Regions from separate parts of the Homo sapiens genome. Here region 2 is linked to region 1. The links are contacts of gene promoters, found by promoter capture Hi-C in blood cells and fetal thymus (Javierre and others, 2016). All regions are on one chromosome and are shown on one strand. Each heading gives the region's core, a stretch centred on a gene start or on the middle of the fragment in contact. The rest is flanking DNA. Distances are from core to core; before and after follow the strand shown.

The links. The method cuts DNA at HindIII sites, captures the fragments that hold promoters and counts their contacts. A CHiCAGO score of 5 or more calls a contact.
Region 2: a fragment that was not itself captured here is called in contact with the fragment with the promoter of RNF152 in region 1 in 1 of 17 cell types (total B cells); the score reaches 5.8 in total B cells.

What each region holds. Positions count from the first base shown.
Region 1 is chr18:61,891,674-61,894,552 of GRCh38, forward strand. RNF152 (ring finger protein 152) reads right to left here and starts at 1,334. Exons shown (of 2, transcript NM_173557.3): 1 at 1,122-1,334. RefSeq lists silencers at 2,520-2,669, 2,740-2,879. The HindIII fragment of the contact is 8,244 bases long and covers 1-2,879 here.
Region 2 is chr18:61,320,833-61,323,652 of GRCh38, forward strand. No RefSeq gene overlaps it. Among named protein-coding and RNA genes, the nearest start is that of CDH20, 11 kb to the right of the region's middle. The HindIII fragment of the contact is 816 bases long and covers 1,036-1,851 here.

The DNA.
Region 1 (2,879 bases), core at 84-2,583:
CTTGTAGTAGAAGGATAAATGCTAGTGTCACCTATGTTTTTAAAGTCACCTTCCAAAACAAAACTACATTGGAGGTGAATAATAAATCTTTCAAGTTTTTAACTTCATTTTTCAAGGGATTTGGAGGAAAATGGTGAAGAGAGAATCTGTCACAGATACCAAGGTGTTACTGCAATGTAAAAGAGAGTAGACCAGGAGCCTTTGGCCCTCAGCAATCTGTCTTCCTACAAGAAAAATCGAAAGCCCATTTCCATAACCATTCTTATTCCCTGCTACTAGTGTAGGATGCGCAGGACTCTGCCCTCTAGCAGAAAATGCTAATGCCGGAGTGTCCTGCTAAGTCTGAAGGTTACGTTTTTTCATTGCACTCTTATCAAGATAACCCCAGATCTGGCTAGGCTGACATCAAAACAGAACTATCCTTGGAAAGAAAAGAACAGGCCAGAGTTTTTGGAAAAGCCCCAATAACCTAAAGATAAAATCCAGAATGAGAGTCTACTGGTTCATGGCTATCTAAATGGAAACTTCACTCAAGCTGTTTTCTCTGTTCTCTTTCTGCTGCCCCCAACAGCCCTCCCTTCCACCTCCCAGTACTCACTGCTAGCATGTCTCTCTTAATATTGCAAACACTATTACAATGAAGGAACAGAAGAAAGACAGTATTTCATACGAAGGTCACTGCATTTGACCGGTGCTCAATTAGAGCACTGGGCAAAAGTACAATCAGCCTTCCAATGATACCTTTTCAACAAAGGATACCCCACCTCTAGACTGAAGCCTAAATCTATTACTACAGATAAGAAAGCAGGCATCTATGGAAACCTAACATTCAGATACAACTGCCTGTGTATGAATTATATCAAAATTCCCATGAAAGGAAACCAGGTGGGATTTCTACAATCCCAAATTCACCCTGCACCTACCTCCAATGGCTTCTTCAAAGGGAAGGTATAAAGTCATTTGCAATTTATTTCTTTGAACCAGGAGTTTTAGCAGCCCCCACACCTTCTCACAGATAGGAACGATGTTGATGCAGAAACCACCCAAACAGCCCTGTGCCAGCACTGTCGGCCCAAATGACCCAGAGACACCCAGGCGCTACCCAGATCGTGGGGGGTTACCTGTATCTGTCACCGAGTCTCTTTCACCCCTTCTGCGTGATGACATCAAGTGGAAATGGTACACGTTTAGGAGGCAAGAGGCTGACAGGCAGGAAACACAATTGAGACTGAGCTTTCTTCAGCCTGCAGTGAAATACATGCAGGAAGGGTTAGATACGCGCCGCGGAGAAGGAAATCCAAGCGCCCTCCTGGGCAGACGGGGCTGGAGCGGGTGCACTAGGGAGGTGGAGCAAGGCAGATGAGGTGTGGAGGGCTGGCGGCCGAGAAGGGGGCGTCACGGCTCCTAATTGTCTCTACAGGATAAATAACCACCTCCCCCCTCCTCCGCAGTCTCCCCCGCCCACGAGTTCCCCTCTGGTGGCAGAGCGCCTACTAGCAACAGTAAGCCCTAGGAAAGAAAGAAATCGGAGCAGGTGGGGAATAACATCTTGGGGCAAAGACACACTGGCAAAATCTACCAGGTAACCCGGTCATATGGGAATGCGGGGCGCCTAGTCAGCCGCGCAGACAGGCACACAGCGCGGCAATCCCGAGCATCTTTCTTTCGTTTGCCCCTGTCCGCCACCTCATCAAGTCACCGCCACCTCATCAAGTCACCGTCACCTCATCAAGTCACCGTCACTCTGCTTTGGCGATTTCTCTACTCTCTCCAGACCCAGGCAGCGCTCCCCAAGCCATGCCCCGACCCCAGGCGGGATTGGGGACCGCCGCTTCCCGAGCAGCGCCCCACGAGTCCAGCTGGCTTTGTCCTGCCGCTGTCCTTCCAGGAGCAAGCGCCCCAGGCGCGTGTGTCTGCACAAAAGACCCCCAACATCTGGCCCTTCACAGCGCTCTCTAATCCCGGGAGGGGCCCTGGGGCAACTTCTAGGGCTGGAGAAGGCGCGAGACAAGGGGACCGGGAGAAGATGAGCCGGGGTGTGTGCGGGCCGGGGGCGCAACTGGGGCGGGCGCGCGCGCACGTGCACACCCAGGGGCGCGCGCGGCGCGGGCACGAGGAAAGCTCCCTCGGACCGGAGCTCCAGGGGGCATCCGAGGACTCGGCCGAGCAGCCGACAGCGCCGCTCCCCGCCGCGGCCGCCCGCCCAACTCCGCCAGCTCTCAGGAGACACGCAACTCCCGGGACCACCTCCCCCGTGCCCCGCCAGACCCCGCGCTCCCCTCCCCGGGACCCTGCGGCCCCGCCACCCCCTCCGCGGTCCAGAAGATCTCCCCAGTTACAGCAGGCGGCAGCTGCCCTTTCCCGCTTCCACGGCTTCGGCGCGGCCGCCGTAGGGGCGCAGACATCCCTGCGCACCCCTCTGTCCGCCCCCGATCCGGAGCCGGCAGAGCAGAGAAACAAACCGAAACTCACTGACCTTTCTCCGCGGCGGGCTCGGGTGCTCGCTACAGAGGCGGCGGCGGCGGCGACAGCATCGCCGGGTGGTCCCGGCGCGCCCGCTCCTTTCAGCCAGACTCGCGCCCCGGGCCGGCGGCCGCCGCTCCTCCGGCCGAGAGCCACGGGGCGGACGCTGACAGCGCGGCGGCGGCGCCTGCAGCCCCAGCACCCGGCCCGGCCCTTCGGGCGGCACCCCCACCTGCCCGGCCGCCCTCCGCGTTCGCGGTCGGACACCGCCGCCAGGCGCTCGGCACCGAGCGAGAGCTTTTTGTGTCACTGAGACTCCGGCACCAAAGGGGGTGGGGGGAGAGGCTGGGCTCCGCTCCCCGCGGCACCGCCCTCCCCGGCGGCTCCACCCCCTCCTCCCCGCCCACAGCCCGGCG
Region 2 (2,820 bases), core at 194-2,693, 570 kb before region 1:
GAAGCCAGCTTCCAAGTTAGCAGCCTGGGGATAAGCCACATGGCAAGATACTGAGGGCTGCCGGCAACCACGGAGAGAGTCAGAAACAACACTCCACCACTAGAGCCTTGAGGTGGCTGCAGCCCCCCGCCAACAGCTTAACTCTCACCTCATGAGACTCAGAACCAGAACTACCCTGCCAAGCTGTCTGTAGATTTCTGGTGTACAGAAACTGTGCAATAACAAATGTTTCTGGTTGGTTTGTAAGCCACTAAATTTGGGATCATTTGTGTGCAGCTATAGGTTACCACTATAATAACCCTGCAAATGTAGCCCCAAGAGTAAGATAGGACTATAAGGGCCTCTGCACATTCTGCAGTCACAATTTATATTTTTGTTATACATACATCTGTCCATTTGGGGAGGTCATGTATCATTTCATTAACATATTTTGGCCTATAAAGAGGTGGATAGATACGCACTAAGAAGCAATCGAGTATCATGGTAATGGATATAGACTGAAATCCCAACACTTGAACTGCATTTCCTGCTTTAGCTCTTACTACCTGTATAACATTGAGTGTGCTTTTTTTGCCTCTCTGCCTTTGATGTCCTTTTTCACATGAAGGGCAATAAGAGTAGCACCTCTAGAACTGTCAGAAGGAATACATGAGCTAGTGCATATGACTCTTAAAACAGTTCCTAGAGCATTGTAGACATTCAGTCAACATTAACTACTGCTATTATTATCGTGGTGGGCTGGGACACTGAGGTGGATGTAAATAAAGAAAAAGAAAAAGAAAAAGGAAGAAAGAAATACTTCAATCTATTTTCTTACATTGACTAAACTGTCACCTCTATCAGTCAGTCTTTTTTTCCATTGCTTCACCTCTTCTCCCGAGATACACTTCCTTATTCAATACATTCACAAGCTTGACCTTTTTTTGTTCTTGATTCACTTTCATATAAGCTCCTTCCCAGATTTCATCTCATGCATCTTTAGGACAACTATTCATTAGCCCTAACCCAACTCTAACCAACCCACACCTAACCCCAAGCTTAATCATACTGACAAGTGTTATAAAACCACAGGCCTATGTTCTTAATATGCAGAAACCCCCACTTAGTACTTCACCCCTGTTCTTCAGGCTACATCTTTGCCTGGTGTTGTGTGCTGAAGCCCTCCAGGAGCCAGCTTCACTCACATCTTACCTGCCTGAGCTACTTGCTTTAAAATTGTAAGAAGGGACAGATGACTTTTCTTAGATCCACAAGGCTTCCTCCACCTTCTCCTACTTATCCTAGGGGATACACTAGTTCTCTTCTCCTATATCCTTACCTCTGGGGTTTGGGTCCCATGTTCTATGGATTAGTCATTCTCATGGTCTTGGATCTCTGCAGTTCACACCTCTAGAAGGCCCGTTCACTTCTTTCTTCCACTATGGACCCGTCTTCTGGGGCAATGGATTATCATGTCCATTGTTGAGCAGGGCTGTCTTAATCCCATGCTGTTGACAGCTCTTCTGACTGATCTATATAATACTCACCACCTCCCCATTTCCCATCCTCTCTGCATTTTGCCTTCGGTCTTCTGTGGCTCCCCTCATCCTATCTCGCCTTACACCTGTAGGTGGCGCCCATGCACCGGTGAGGGCAGATGGCGCCTGTTCTGTCCCTCCTGTCTCCCCCTGGCTGGGCTCAGACAGTAGGGAAGATCGGCCCTTCTTCCTCACAGAGACTCTCCATCAACATAAAGACATCACTTCTGGGTCCTTGTTCTCCACACCTGGAAGGCTTCCACGAACAGCATATTTCCTGGAATAATTTCTTAAGCTGCACCTATAATTTGTTTATCTTTGGACTTATAAAATAAGCTTAACATGTCTCAGCCTGGCTGTCCTCATCTGTGGAGGCCATCTTAAATGGTGGTGGTTTGACAGGTTATTATTTCATCTTAAGTGATATAATGTATGCAATTGCTGGGTACAGTCTCTGGCACATGGTATACGTGTAGTAAATGCGTTGTTATTATTACTGTTGGTGTCATCCTCAACATCATCAGCCCCATCATACACAAACCCATAGTCCTTTGCCCCTTAGGTGAAAAGTTCCTGGAATGTGGTTTAACTCCAGCTTCTCCTGCAGTTATAATTCTATATCCCCAAATCTGTCTTTTTCCTTTCCAAAAATATCACCATCCCCAAAGAAGGCCCGATTGTTTCAATCCCACTGCTTTATTTCTGGAAAGAATGGTGAGAATTTTTAGCCCTAAACATGCTAAATAAAATCACAAATTTCTTCTAAGAGTTCTGTCCCTTTTTCTCCTATACATTCTCCAAAATAAATCTATTTTCTCTATTGATCTAAAGCTCACAACAAACTTCTTGTTGAAAAATATTTGATTTACTGAAAAATATTTCCCTTGGCTACCTCCTAAGTGAACTGATAGGGTACCCAGCCACATAATCTCTTGTTGGACAGCTCTTCTTTTCATCAAAAGAATCCTTGCAACAAAAAGCACCTGGAATGGCAGGTTACGATGCTCTCCTCTTCTTTCGCAAACTTTCTAGATTTTCTTTCCTTCTCTATTCTATTTCTTTTTACTTATGAACTATATGAAAGGCAAAACAGACAAACTGGCCATTAGGATTTCAATAATTCCCTTACTTTCTCCTCCACATTCTATTTTCCCTTACCGTTATTCACCCTCACCTCACTCTTCCACATTTCTGCTGTCTCTTCCCTTCCAGGTGCTCACTGTAGTGGACCCTAACCATGCGAAAAAGTCATAGCCAAAATTCTCTGTTTCAGCACACAGTACTCATACAGATTACTGACCCC